2 separate regions of the Homo sapiens genome follow, and region 2 is linked to region 1. The links are contacts of gene promoters, found by promoter capture Hi-C in human tissues and cell types (Jung and others, 2019). All regions are on one chromosome and are shown on one strand. The core of a region is centred on a gene start or on the middle of the fragment in contact, and the rest is flanking DNA. Distances in the headings are between cores, read along the strand shown. Region 1 holds the start of OCSTAMP (osteoclast stimulatory transmembrane protein). Region 2 overlaps ZMYND8 (zinc finger MYND-type containing 8).

Evidence for each region. Contacts are between HindIII fragments. The study calls those that stand out against the background at their distance.
Region 2: a fragment that was not itself captured here is called in contact with the fragment with the promoter of OCSTAMP in region 1 in 1 of the 25 tissues and cell types used here (dorsolateral prefrontal cortex).

The regions. Positions count from the first base shown.
Region 1 is chr20:46,547,827-46,555,520 of GRCh38, forward strand. It overlaps OCSTAMP (osteoclast stimulatory transmembrane protein), which reads right to left and starts at 2,828. Exons shown (of 3, transcript NM_080721.3): 1 at 2,691-2,828. The coding sequence starts at 2,734. RefSeq lists an enhancer at 5,288-5,487. The HindIII fragment of the contact is 9,290 bases long and covers 1-7,360 here.
Region 2 is chr20:47,239,446-47,247,139 of GRCh38, forward strand. ZMYND8 (zinc finger MYND-type containing 8) reads right to left here. Exons shown (of 23, transcript NM_001281775.3): 14 at 6,563-7,072. Among named protein-coding and RNA genes, the nearest start is that of MIR3616, 76 kb to the left of the region's middle. The HindIII fragment of the contact is 4,822 bases long and covers 1,476-6,297 here.

The DNA.
Region 1 (7,694 bases), core at 1,578-4,077:
ATTCATGTAAAGGGAGGAAATCTATAGCATGTTTGCAGGTGGGAGATCTCATCGAGAGGGGAGACATTGACAAAGGGGAGACTCCCTGGAGTGACACCTGTAGGGGTGGAGGCAGAGAGTGAGACTGAGAACATGCAAGGTGGGGCTGGTCTTAGAATAGAGCAGGGGTCGTTCATCCTTAATAGCAGGTGGGAAAGCAGAGGAAATAGGTACAGATGATGGCGAATGAACAGGCAGCGTGTATGCACCTGTGAAAAGTATCCTCTGATATACGCAGAGCAGAGTAATGTTAAGGGCATGACCTCTGGACTGCCTGGGCTCAAATTTCTGCTCCACCACTTGCCAGCTATGTGAACTTGGGTACATATCACAACCTTTCTGTGTCTCAGCTGTCTCATCTGTAAAATGGTGCAATAAAAGTATGCACCTCCTGGGGTCACTTTGTTTCTGGCACATGGTAAGTATCACATCAGCTATTACCTACCACTAGAGTCAACTCCACCGGAGCAGGGACTTTGTCCGTTTTGGTCACTGATATGTCCCAAGTGCCTACAATAGTGTCTGCCATGTTGTGAGTGCTCCAAAACTATTCATTAAGAGTAGCATGACCGATTGCTTCTGTTTGCTCAGGTTGGCAGGAAGCAAGGTCAGCAGAGAAGGTAAGATGCTGGCGGAGGTGATGGATGCTTGAAGAGGAAGAAGAAAGTACAAAATGGTTGCCCAGGAAAGTGGGAGAACAAACGAACTGGGGCAATAACATATGTGCTGGGCAACACTGAGGCCCACTTGAGGTTGGAGATCATACATTATCTTAAGTGAGAGCAGGCAGAAAGGTTATACGGGAATATGGTTATAAAGGGCAGGGAGGGTGGTGGGGAGGCTGTCACTGTGTTGGTTACAGGCAAAGCTGCTGACTTGCTCCACCATCAACAGCTTGAAGGATAAGCATGTGACTGGGTCTAGTTGATCCAAGTACCTCTGATCCCCTGGCCACCGTGACTGGTGCAGGGATTGCACCTGACCGGAGATGGACCAATAGAGCTTTCCTCAGGATTTTGCTGCAACGACAAAAAAACTGCCCTTTGTTGCCTTGAGAGCTAAGCTGGTAGGAAGATGCCTCAAGCCTTGGGGACCACCATGTAGTATGAGTCGGCCTGGGATGAAGGCAACACAAGGAAAACAGTGTTAGGAAACAGACAGAGAGTCCCAGTGGCCTTGTTGGAGGACCTGGATCCAGAAATGCCTGAAGCCGAAATCTATGCCGGACCACACACTAGGAGATGTCTGTTTTTCTACAGGCAGTGTAAGATCAATCTGTCACTTGCAACTCAATGAGTCCTGACTAATACAGAAACCTTTGTCACAGGGCTTCTGGGACAATAAAATGAAATAATCCATGTAAAGAAGTTTACACAGGGTCTGGCACAGAAGAGGGATCCTATAAAACTGCACCACTTGTTACTCTGATGATACTTATGTCAACGATGTAAATGTTTCACTCGAGTCTCCTCTGTGCCCAGGCTCTGTGCTGACCCCTGTGGACACAAAGATGAATTAAGTCCTGGTCCCACTAAAGGAGTTCACAGTCTAATTGAGGAGACTTAAATAGACCATTAGAGTTTAAGTTCATTAACAAAGAATTCTGAGCATAGTATGCCTGGGCCTGGACTGGGGTGGGATAGATGGAGAGTGACCCAGTTTTACCTGGGAGTCAGGAAGGCTCCCTGGAAGAGGTGACATTCCAGCTGGGGGTGGAAGGACAAGTGTCAGTTTGTGGGTGAAGAAGGGAGTTGGACATCCCTGACAGAAGGAACAGCGTGTGCAAAGGTCCTGTGCTCTGACCATCGGGAAATAGGGAGTTGGGAGAACCAGAACAGTGGGAAGCTGAGATGCAGTGAGGCCTGTGGGGCTGGAGTGAAGGTCACAACCTTGAAGCCCTAAAGGCTGAATCATATGCAAATGTGCCTTATTGTGGCCCACTCTGTGTGTGTGTGTGTGTGTGTAAGCTGCCCCCATTTGGAAATAAGGAAGTTTCACATTAAAATCTGGGTTTCCAGCTTTTCTTGAGAGATAAGAAGATCTGGGTTAGAGCTCCCACCTTTGCAACAGGTAGCTGGAGCTGAGTATCCACTACCCACCTTTGACAGGGGAGCAGCCCTGCAGACTGCATCCTGCTGATCAATGAACGGGTCCGTCTGCACACCCAGGTGGCCTTCCACAGGTGCAACCCCTTCCCAGCTCCCGAAGGCATTTGAATTTGGGACTAAACACCCCCTTCTACTATATAATTAATATTTGGAACACAGTAGCTTTTGGAATAATAGCTAATAATAAAAACAATTTTAAGGATTGAAAGCCAGTCCTAAGTCATATTGGATGACAATTCCTGCACGGGGTATTGAAAATGGCAAGGAAACTAGCTGCTGTTTAGTGAGTGCTTCCTCTGAGCCAAGCAGGTGCCAAGTACTAAGCATGTGTTTTCTCATTCAATTCTGGCAACAGTCTTGTAGATGTCATTATTACTTCCATTTCACAGATGGGGAACTGAGGCTCACAGAGAACTGAGGATTTGCCTAAGGTCACATAGCCAAGGAATGGCAGAGCTGAAGATTTGGGTTCATATCCATCACCCCCAATGGCTGACTGTTTTCTCACCTGTAGCCCTCAGTGTCCAAAGTCCCCAGACCTACCCGGTCTTGACAAGTTGCTCAGCTGCTCCTGGGTGGCCTGGCATGCTGTCCAAATGGCAGTGGTTTCAGGCGGGCGGTCGCTGGCAGCTGTGGCAGGTGGAGAGGAAGTGGGGGAATCGCTGGGACTTGGGAATCCCTGCCACTTCTGCTTTTCCACTCTTTAATGAAGCTCTCCTGGCTGCCTTGTCCCGCCCTTTTCGGGGCCCACCTCCCAGAGGGTTGGGCAAGCTGCCTCATCCTCTGCCCACAAGCAAGAGCGGGTGGAAGGTGTGGGAAGAGGAAAAGACAGCCTTTTCCAAGCGATGTCTCTAATCTTGGTAGCAGGAAGGTAGAATTAGCCCCATTTTACAGAGAAGGAAACTGAGGCACAGAGAAACCATACAGCTTCCCTTTCCCTCCCACTCCATAGTTGTGTGCCCCAAGGGGAGCCTGATCCCTGCTCTTGGGACTCACAGGTGATAATCAGACCCCTGCCAAGTACTGGGAGCAGTGGCTCTGGTCTCCTTCCCCAGCCCCCTTCCTGTCTTTAGCCTGACTTGTACCTCGCTTCAAATCTCAGCTCTGTCCCTCCCTAGCTATGAGACCTTGGGCAGGTGACCTCATATCTCTCTGCTGGTTTTCTCCCCTTAAAAAAAGTTTAATGAGGCTGGGCACAGTGGCTCACATCTGTAATCCCAGCACTCTGGGAGGCTGAGGGGGGTGGATCACCTGAGGTCAGGAGTTTGAGATCAGCCTGACCAACATGGTGAAACCCTGTCTCTACTAAAAATACAAAAATTATCTGGTTTGTGGTGGTGCATACCTGTAGTTCCAGATACTCGGGAGGCTGAGGCAGGAGAATCACTTGAACCTAGGAGACAAGGTTGCAGTGAGCTGAGATCACGTCACTGCACTCCAGCCTGGGCACAGAGCGAGACTCCGTCTCAAAAAAAAATAGTTAATGAAAATAACAGTTAACATTTATTGAGCACTTACTATGTATCAGGCATTCTTCTAAACAATTTCTCTTCAAATTCACTGAACACTTACTTTGAACATCCCTTTATGGTAAAGATGTTATTTTCATTCTTCAGCTCAGAAAACTGAGACTCAGAGAGCTACGTCGCCAACCACGCCACTCAGCTATTAATGGTACTGCCGTGATTTCTAACCAGCGGGCTGGCTTCAGGGTATACCAGTTAGCCACTGGGCTCTGCTGCTGTGGAGGGGATAATTCACAGACCTCGTGATTACTTCATAGTACAGCTGGTACTGCAAATAGTAGGTACTCAATAATGTAAATTCCCCACGCACACCCTCTGCAGTTAGTGCCCTGCAGGTCTGCTTTCAGGCTGTCCTGAAAGCCAGTTCCTACCTGGAATGCAGACACCTCTCCAGCATCTCTGTACCCCATCACTCCCAGCAGGCCTCCCCTGAGCCCCCCAGGCTCCCCCTCTGTGGGATGGACCAGTAGGGGCACAGCCACTTTCCCTTATAAGGACATGTTGCCTGGGTCACTCTCAGGCCTGAAGGGGAATGTCCTGCGGCCTGGATAGGGGAAGTGACGTTCTTATAGTTACACAGCGATTGAATGGAATACCTGTGGCCAGAACCCTCAGAGGGCCTAACACACTTCCCAGACAGTGCACCCCTGCAGGATGTTAGGCCAGCTACCAGGTCTGCAAAGAACTAAGTACATGAGGCAGACTAGCAGCAGCAAACTTGTGTACCCACAGGGGCCACGCTGCTTAGCTCATGAACAAAGCAGGATGAATGCAAATAGCAGTGAGCTACAAAGTGTAGCCCCCCCCACTCCCTCCTGTCTGGTCAGCTGTTATTCATCTCCAGTTGAGGGTCAAAGCCCCTTGAAAACGAGGCCCACCATGACCAGATTTTCCAGCTTTTCTAAAGACGCCAGTCATTCTCTTTTTAATGTAAATGTCAGCTTTTTTTTTTTTAAATGAAAGACTACCATGCAGACCAATCTTAACAGGTCTATGGGCCAAAGCCAGCATGAGGAGCATCAATTTTCACCTTCCGCAGGAGGCCTTAGTCAGGCCTGCTGTTAGCTGTCTGGCTGCAAGGAGATGTCTAGCTATTCCCCCCAAACTGCAGGGGCCCTGGACTGGAGGCAGCAGACCTGAACTCAAATGCCAGCTTTACCACTTACTGTGCTGTGTGACCTTGGGCAAGACACTGTCCCTCTCTGAAGTTGTGCATCCTCTGCTATAATGAGGGTAATACAGTACCTACTTTAAGGACTGTTTGAGGATTCAATGAGATAATGCATATAGAGTGTTCAGTAAACAATAGGTAAATGCTCATGCCCTGTTTCCTCCTACCTGGGATGACAGTTCTGCCAAGTGAGCCCCTGTCTGCTCACATCTGATTGTTGAGACTTCTGATGCTCACCAGGCCACCCTGGCCTGGATCCCATCACATAGCAAACTTCAGGGCATTGTGCTGGTCAGACAGAAAGAGTCCTAGAAGCCAGCCACCAGCATTTGCCCAGTTTCTGCACAGGCACTAGGGAGCTGGTTGGATAAGGACCAGGCAGTTTGTTTCCGGAAGGCCTCTGGTGGATATGTAAGATTTGGGAGCATGGGGGCATAGGGAGTGAACAGGCAAAATATATTTTTGGCTTTTCTCGGTACATGTAGGCAGTTACCTCTGTCTATATAAGGCTGGCCTGACCTCAAGGCCCACAACATCCGGAAGGGGCTTCTGAATCATCAAAAATAGAATCAGCTTTGTTGAGGGGAATTTGTGGGTGGAGGATTCAGAGCCATAAGACAGAAGAGGAAGAGGAAGAGGTAAGCCTTCAGATCTTCCTGGAGAGCCTGGTCTGGGATCAGAATCAGAGACCCATAGAGTATTATTTTCAGTAGAGATGGACTTTTGCCTTGTTGCCCAGGATGGTCTCAAACTCCTAGGCTCAAGTAATCTGCCCACCTCAGCCTCCCAAAGCGCTGGGATTACAGGCGTGAGCTACTGTGCCCAGCTGCACAGAATAATTAGAGTCACTGAATTCTTTAGCCTTCTTCAACGTTGCCACTGTCCAGATAGTTTGAGAATACAGAGAAGCAGCCAAAATCTTCCTATATTGCTGGTGCTATCCAATAGCAACAGTATGTGAGCCACCAACTCGAACCGTATGCATAATTTAAACTTTTCTGGTAACCCTACTCAAAGTCCACTGATTCAAATGTTAGTCTCATCTAAAAACACCCTCACAGAAATATCCAGAATAATGCTTGACCAAATATCTGGGCACTATGGCCCAGTCAAGTTGATATATAACATTTTTTAAATTTAAAAAATCGAATTTTTAAAAACAGAAATCAATTTTAATAAAATATTTTAGTCAATGTAACATATCACAAATATCCTTTTAACATGTAAATAATATAAAAAATTGACAGGATGTTTTACATTTATTTTCTCATATTACAATTTTCTACTTATAACAAATCTCAATTTGAACTAGCCACATTACAAATGTTCAGTAGCCACACATAGCAAGTGGCTACTGTGTCACACAGGGCAGCTATAGACCATTTCCATCATTACAGAAAGGTCAGTGGGTAGTGCTGCTCTAGGCCATTAGAACCCGTGACCGCTAATGCTGAAATGGACCTCCCAGATCATGCAATTCAAGGGTCATAGATTCAAATGCTTTCACAAGCCAGGAAAGTGACAGAGTTGACAGAGGAGAGCCAGTGTAAGTCATTAAAGAGTGGTGGGGACTGAGGCTAATTAATGTTTACGTTCCAACTTATGATTTCCTCCACATACTACTCAGCTCCAAACAATTGTTGCCAGATGCCAAAGAGGGTCTCATATTGCTAGATCTGGTATTTTCCTTTCCAAGAGAAGCAGAAATCCAGATTTTTATGTGAAATCTCCTGAATTTTAATGACTAGCAAATAATAATTTAAAATTCATCAGGGGTCTGGCACAGTGGCTCACGCTTGTAATATCAGCACTTTGGGAGGCCGAGGCAGGTGGATCACTTGAGGCTCAGGAGTCTAAGATCAGCCTGGGCAAATGGAAAAACCCCGACTCTACTAAAAATAGAAAAATTAGGTGGGCATGATAGTGATGTTGTGCACTTCCAGCTACTCCAGAGGCTGAGGTGGGAGGATCACCTGAGCCTGGGACATGGAGGTTGCAGTGAGCTGAGATCACACCAGGCCAGTGCACTCCAGCCTGGGCCACAAAGCGAGACCCTGTCTCAAAAAAACTAAACTTAAAAAACCAAACTCATTGGGGAGAGGACAAACAAAACCTGGCTGAGGGCTGGCACCAGATTGCAAGCTCTGATGTGTCAACCCTTTGTGCCTTACTCTTCTCAAAGCTTGTTTCTCCAGACCCCTCCCCATGCTCCTCCTCCCTGCCCTGCACCCGGGAGGTGGACCTGGACAGGCTGCATCAAAGCCCTCCTTGCATTCTGGCTGGTGTTGGTGCAACACATAAAATTTCATGTGTCAACTTGGCTGAGCCATGGTGCCCAGGGATTTAGCTATGCATCACTCTTGATGTTTCCGTGAGTATGTTTTGAGATGAGATTAACATTTGAATAAGTGGGTTTTGAGTAGGGTGGATCACCCTTCAGAATGTGAATGGGTCTCATCCATCAGTGGGAGGCCTGAATATTGCAACAGACTGACCCTTCCTGAGCAAGAGGACGCTCTGCAGCAGATAGCCTTCAGGTTCCAACTGCAGCACTTTCTTGGCTCTCCAGCCTCCTGGTCTCCCCATCAGATTTTGGACTTGCTAAGCCTCCACAATGGTGTGAGCCAATTCCTAAAAGAAATCTTTCTCCTTCTGTCTTGATAAGACACACACACACACACACACACACACACACACACACACACACACACACACACCCTGTTTGTTGGTTTCTCTAGGGAGCCCTGACTCCCCAGAAGGAGAGCTGAGGGATAGAGGAGAGGAAGAGCCCCCTCCTTCCTGCAGTCACCAAGAGCCAGCTGCATCCCTGGACCCAGATCCCATCAGGAA
Region 2 (7,694 bases), core at 2,637-5,136, 690 kb after region 1:
CTACACCTAGTGGACAATGCGGTGGGCGAACAGATTCAATGTTCACGCCCTTTTCGCAAAGTTAAAATCTAGTCGGCACCTTGAGAAGGGCCCAGCGGAAGTCAATCCAGACAGGAAGAGCAATTCTTTGGCTAGGGAACGTAGAAAGCAATACCTCCAAAGAGCCAGATGGCCTCCCAATGGCCAAAGCAGTAACACTCAGTCACCCAGAAAGAAAAGTATTCTTTTCATCTCTTCTGATTCCCTCCAGGACAAAGTTTGAAGGCGGTACTGATAGCCAGGACAATACCAGGAAAACAAATTCTGCCCCAAGGCCAGAACCTTCCCCCAACGCAATGGTACTGATCTAGGATTGAGTAGCATTGCTTTGGTTTTGATTGGATTTATTCCTATCACCAGCTTTTATGTATACTGTGTGCTACTGTTCTTATTGGGTGGTGTTCAAGTCTAAAATGAGTTTATACTTGCAGATGCTTTTTTCAGGGGAAATTTTTTTACTAAAAAAATGAGGCCAAGCACGGTGGCTCACGCCTGTAATCCCAGCACTTCGGGAGGCTGAGGCAGGCGGATCACTTGAGGTCAGGATTTTGAGACCAGCCTGACCAACATGGGGAAACCCCGTCTCTATTAAAAATACAAAAAAATTAGCCAGACGTGGTGGGAAACTGAGGCAGGAGAATTCCTTGAACCCAGGAGGCGGAAGTTGCAGTGAGCCGAGATCGCGCCACTGCACTCCGGTCTGTGAGAAAGAGTGAGTGAGACTCCGTCTCAAAAAATATTACTAATAGGCCGGGCGCAGTGGCTCACGCCTGTAATCCCAACACTTTAGGAGGCTGAGGTGGGCGGATCACTTGTGGTCAGGAGTTCAAGAGCAGCCTGGCCAACATAGTGAAACCCCGTCTCTACCGAAAATACAAAAATAGCCGGGTGCGGTGGCAGGCGCCTGTAGTCCCAGCTACTCAAGAGGCTGAGGCAGAAGAATCGCTTGAACCCGGGACGTGGAGGTTGCAGGGAGCCGAGACCATGCCATTGCACTCCAGCCTGGGTGACAGGGTGAGACTCCGTCTCAAAATAATAATAATAATAAATGAAAAGTAAATAAAATGAGTTTATTTTATTTATTTATTGAGATGGATTCTCACTCTGTCACCCAGGGTGGAGTGCAGTGGCACAAACTTGGCTCACTGCAACCTCCGCCCTCTGAGTTCAAGCGATTCTCCTGCCTCAGCCTCCCGACTACGTGGGATTACAGGCGCCTGCCACCGCACCCAGCTAATTTTTTTTATTTTCAGCAGAGACGGGGTTTCGCCATCTTGCCCAGGCTGGTCTTGAACTCCTGACCTCATGATCCATCCGCCTTGGCCTCCTAAAGTGCTGGAATTACAGGCGTGAGCCAACGTGCCCGGCCTATTTTATTTTATGTTTTAAAGAGATAGAGTTTTGCTATATCACCCCGGCTGGGCTCAAGCAAGCCACTTCAGCCTCCCGAATAGCTGGGACTACACGGGACGTGCTACTGTGTCCCGCTTTAAATGAGCTTAATTTTATTTTTAAAGAATGAGATTCTTGGCCGGGTGCAGTGGCTCACGCCTGTAATCCCAGCACTTTGGGAGGCCGAGGCGGGCAGATCACGAAGTCAGGAGTTCGAAACCAGTCTGGCCAACATGGTGAAACCCCATCTCTACTAAAGATACAAAAAATTAGCCGGGCATGGTGGTGTGTGCCTATAATCCCAGCTACTTGGGAGGCTGAGGCAGGAGAATCGCTTGAACCCATGAGGCAGAGGTTGCAGTGAGCCGAAATCGCCCCATTGCACTCCAGCCTGGGTGACAGGGCGAGACTCCGTCTCAAAAAAAAAAAAAAAAAAAAGATTCTTTAAATAAAAAAAGTCAAAAATTATACAAGCAGGACTTGAGAACGGGAAAGACAATGAATGTGAATGACTCAAGTTTGAAAAACGCTGCCATATGGAGTATGTCATCTTGGAGGAGCTGGGCTGGTGGGGAATAAAGGGTAGGATTTCAACAGGCGGAAAGTGAGAATCTGGAGGGAACAGCATCAGCCAAGATATGTCTAGGAATACAGAGCATTTGAGTAAGTGAGGGCAGGCAGGGAGGAGGGGCTGGAAGGGAGGTTAGAGCCAGAAGCACTGAGCAGCACGTAGAGGCGATGACCACACGGGAGCTCATTTGTAAAGGTGGCTCAGTTATGGATGCACAGGCCTCAGCCCCCGGTAAGGTGAGCCTATGCCCCAGAGAGGATATCTGGGGAACACACACCACACCCAGGTACAAGCCAGCACCCCGATCTTGGACTATGCTCCCTGACATCAAACTCCTTTAAATAAGGATTATGTCTGCCTCTTTTTCTTTTCTTTTTTTTTTTTTTTTGAGATGGAGTCTTGCTCTGTCACCCAGGCTGGAGTGCAGTGGCGCGATCTCGGCTCACTGCAAGCTCCGCCTCCTGGGTTCACACCATTCTCCTGCCTTAGCCTCCCGAGTAGCTGGGACTACAGGTGCCCGCCACCATGCCCAGCTCATTTTTTGTATTCTCAGTAGAGGCGGGGTTTCACTGTGTTAGCCAGGATGGTCTCAATCTCCTGACCTTGTGATCCACCCGCCTCGGCCTCCCAAAGTGCTGGGATTACAGGCGTGAGCCGCTGCGCCCGGCCTATGTCTGTCTTTTTAAGATCAGTATTACCCAGAAAAAGACATGAGCCTGATTACTCCAGCAAGGATTTTCATTCAGTAAGCTGTGGGTTTTAAGAAGCCAAGGAGGGAAAGAGACAAGCTGACTATCCCGACTTCAGAGGGCGTTCTCGATGGTTATCGAGATGTTGCTGGCCCTTGTACTTCCCCAGAGAGGAGAATCCAGCCAAGCTGGTCAGCAAGAGCCTGGGGTGGGTCTGGAAGGAGAGCTTCCTGCAGTGAAGAACTCCGATGCTTCCAGGGCCACCTGCCAGATATGGGGCACAGTCCCCGCCTCTTCCAGGTGGAGATGAGGTGTTGAACTGGGCCCTTCTAAGAGGAGGGCAGGGGGCAGTGCCTTAGCAGAGCTTCTAACCCACGTAAGTGCCTTCAATGCCTTCCTTTCCTGCCACATTACCAAAAAATATACTGTTATTGTTGATGAGCTAGCCTGTCTCCCCACCGTAAGGGCAACCGCAAAATGGTCGTTTTCTCTCTCCTGATTTGCAAAAGCAAACAGCCAGCAGGGCGGAGGGGTTACTGCTCTGCAGTGATCACAGCTGGCTCTCTGCCAAATAAAGAACTAGAGTATACAATCCGATAAGATTCCAGGCTCAAAATTGTTTGAAGTTATTTAGATATCAAAATATTTAAATTTCCAGGAATCCTGATGGTTTATGGAGACAAAATGAGGCTACAGGAAATTTCATTTGTCCCAGAAATCTGGAGTACATAATCAATCACCTGTAGCGGGAAAAAAAGGGTGAATTTTTTTTTAAAGGGTCAGCACCTGAGAAGCTGCCCTATCAAATTAACCTACTTAATTCCTGAATTTGTCACTGGTCACTGTTTTTCATTTATAAAGCAAGGACTTTTTAAGAGAAAAATTAGCATCCCCTTTGTAGAAGGATGGAAATTACTGATGTGCCAGTGAAAGCACAGCGAAGAGTCTAAGTGTGCTCTCTTTGCTTCTGTTCTGAGGTTATTAGCTATAAAAGCTGTTTTGCCATCTGAAGATTCATATTCTACCCATAAGCTGCATCCCTAGTGGAAGGTAAGCTGGAGGTCACAACAGCGCAATCCAAAATGCCCTTCACTTACTAAACTCTTAAGTGAAAACACATCATTGAAAAGATGCTCTCTAGCGGAGTCTGACACGAGAATTTTTCAAGACCCAAACCACCATCAGCTCTGAATTTAAGATCAATTGGTTTTGCCCCAAGCCTTAGGAAGCTGCTCTAACTGAACTGTGTTTTAGAATCATCTTCAGCTTAATTGTCCACCATCTACTAAAGCTTCCTGGAGAAATTCCCTTCAGACATCAATGTGAGGAAAAGTTCTACTTCTTTTAATCAACTAGAATGGTTTTTTGTTTTTTTGGAAAGTATGAGATCTTCTAAGGTACTGTGTTTCCCATTCTGCTTTCAGAGCCAACTTCCCTAACTCTGAAGATTGAAATAGTACAGATTTCTGTATAAAACCTTTCCCCAGACCACTTGCTATTCTACCTTCATTTTCCTTTTACATGGATGTCTTTATTTTCATCTTGTTTCATATGGTTATGTATCCTTGTCAATCTGTTGCAAATTCTTTCTGGAAGAGGTAGGGGCACAAAACCAATCAATCAAAAGATCTGTTCCAGAAAGAAAGAACAGTATAAATATGTCACTCATAGGAGCACTGCCATCTGCACCCAAATATTCCTACGATCCTCATGAAATAAATGCTACTCCTATTGTTCTCTGCAACAACAGAGACAGTCTCTCAAAACCCAATCCATAACATACTCATATTTTTCAGAGGCCATCTATAAATCTAACAGATGGGTCGGGATGGTTTGATGGCCTATCCTCCCTCCCTTATGTAACTGTATCTCTCTCTTCCTCCACTGTACCTCTCACAGACATTCTCTTTAGCTGAACTGCAGGAATCCTCTCTCACTCTGACAGCTGAGGTTCCAGAGCAGCCCAGGTTGACCATAACCACAGCAGAAAGATTCTCAAGGCCCATCCCTGACTTGCTTTAAGCCACCAGACAATGGAAACCCCAAAGGACATGGAGTTACATCTTATTCAAGGGTTTCATTGACAAGTTAGCTCCTGATAGAAGTTAGGCACAGTCAAGATTTAAACCTGGCTATCCCTTAAGTCACTCGCCACATACATAAGGTTTTATGGCTACAACCTGTAATTTGTCCTGGGGCAATGTTTCTTCTGGGCCCTTAGTTAATTCTTCAGTATCTTTATTGAGCATGTTGAATCCTCTAACCTAATTGCCAAGCCAACTCAAAAATGTGCTGAATACTTTGTCAGTGGGAAGGACATCCTTCCAATCATTCCCACACCCCTTTTGTTGGGCTTGTTAACATGCCCAGGCTGCACTAGGCTGTGGGGTAGTCACTGCTGGTTCAGAATATAACCGTAGCCTCTGAGACTCAGGGGATATTTGGCAATATTTGATTGCCACATTTGTGACTGCCACAACTGAGCAAGTAAGGTTGCCATCTGGCTGGTAGAGGCCAGGGATGCTGGAAAACATCCTCCAATACACAGGACTAAGAATTAGCCAGGGCAAACTGTCAGAAGTGCAAGGTTGTGAAACTCTGAGCTAAGTTAAATGCAAATAAGATTAAAAGCCAGTAAGGCCAGACGCAGTAGCTCATGCCTGTAATCCCAGCACTTTAGGAGGCCGAGCTGGGTGGCTCACCTGAGGTCAGGAGTTTGAGACCAGCCTGGCCAACATGGTGAAACCCTGTTTCTACTAAAAATACAAAAATTAGCCAGGCGTGGTGGCAGGTGCCTGTAATCCCAGTTACTTGGGAGGCTGAGGGAGGAGAATCACTTGAACCCGGGAGGCGGAGGTTGCAGTCAGCCGAGATTGTACCATTGTACTCCAGCCTGGGCGACAAGAGCCAAATTCTGTCCGCCCCCCCTCCCCAAAAAAGCCAATACACATATCCACCATACTCCATTTTCTAGTGCCCTAAGAAGCACTCAGTATTCTGGCACCAATCACCCAAATACTGTCCTACTACTGTAAGAAAATACACTTGGAGATGCCTAGGTGGCATGAGGGGAGGAAAGCAAAGCTGAAATCATCAAAACCTTTGAAATGAACACTGCTTTTTTTTTAGAGAGGGAGTCTTGCTCTGCCACCCACACTGGAGTGCAGTGGCGCAATCTCAGCTCACTGCAACCTCCGCCTCCTGGGTTCAAGCGATTATCCTGCCTCCGCCTCACGAGTAGCTGGGATTACAGGCGCCTGCTACCACGCCCCGCTAATTTTTGTATTTTAGTAGAGACAGGGTTTCACTATGTAGGTCAAGCTGGTTTTGAACTCCTGACCTCAAATGATCCACCCGCCTCGGCCTCCCCAAGTGCTGGGATTACAGGCGTGAGCCACCATGCCCAGCTTGAAATGAACACTCCTAACCGTTTGAGACTTGTCAAAAGAGAATGAGATGTCTGTGGAATGCAGCACTGAAGGACCATTTGACAAGATCCAAATGTTAACAAACACTTTGGGGAAATAAATGAGCATATTGGAAAAGAAGCTGCTCAGACTAAAAATGACTTGGTCACTAAAAGTAACCATCATTTTCTAACAGACTTCTCTTTCTGTACTCAAAATCAATCATACTGGATACCGAGCAGGTTAAAGGTAGGCAGGCCCATGTTTGAGTCCAGGTCCTGTTCTATGACTAGCTAGGCAACCTTAAACCAAACACAGCTTCACTGTGCCTCTCTCTCAGTGTGTTAGAGGGTCACATAACTTCTGATTTGTTTCTTTAAGGGTCACATAACTTTTGATAGTAAGTGTACGAGGTAGGATTCTAAACCAAATTAAGAAAACTGGAAACAGATACAATCACTTACCATCCTGTTTGGGAGATGGTTCTTTGGGTTCCTTCTTATTTTTTCGACCCTCCCGCCCAGAATGGTCTTCTCCTAAATCTATGACAAGTTCGCTCTCTGAATCAGAGTCCAGGCCCAAATGGACTGTTGGGGAATCCGTCTCATCTTTTCCCTTCAGTTTATCCTTTATGGGGTGAGGTGAAGGTTTTGCCTTTTCGGAAAAGTCCTTCTCAGGCTCAGGGCTGGCCTTGTCCTTGACTGCTCCAGGGTCTGCCTTCTCGCTGGCTGGTGACGTGCTTTTCAGCTCCTCTTTAATCTCCACTGGGTTTGTAGGCTTGGGCTTTTTTTTAACAGCAGATGGCTCTTTGTCCATCTGACAACCTTCTTTGTCCTCTGTGTCTTCTGGCTCGTTCTTAGACTTCTGCTCATCATCACTGATATACTCACTATCGCTACTATCTGACTTCTCAGAATCCTCCGAATCGCTGTGCTCTACGGCCGTATAGACATCTTCCGAGATTTCATTTATGCCTAAATTCAAAAAGAAAACCCAGCATGTGGCGTAGTCACAAAATAAAGAGCAGGATGAAAAATGCAAACATTTTTCCACACCAAATGCTGGAATAAGAAAAGCACGTTTCAAATCGCATCACATTGGCCTAAATGGGGCCAGTAATAATCTCAAGTGGCAACTGGCTACGGCTGCCAAGTGGTACTTGCCTTGGGAGAGGGTTTTGGTTGTTAGGAGACACAGGACCTACCAACGGAGATTTTAAATTTATATGGCACTAAACATGTGGTGCCAAATTTTTGCAACGTTGATAACTAATTGGGATTATTGAGAATGAAGAGGGCTGGAAGGGAACAGCAGGGACAAGCTGTTCAAACTGATCCAATTTACAGATTAGAAAACAGAGGCCCAGGGATATCACCTGCCCTAGGACACAAGACAGAGGCCAGGCCAGAACCCCGGGTTCCTGGCTCCCCACCAACACTCTTCCCTTGGGTTTCCAAAGGGTTAAAGTTCTTGATCCTTTGTGTCTAGGCCAAAGAAAATAAGCCAAAGCCTTAAAGCAGAGGTTGCAAACAGCCCACAAGCCACATCTAGCTTGCAGACATGTTTCATGCGAGAGGCACTGGTTTGGCCCACAGG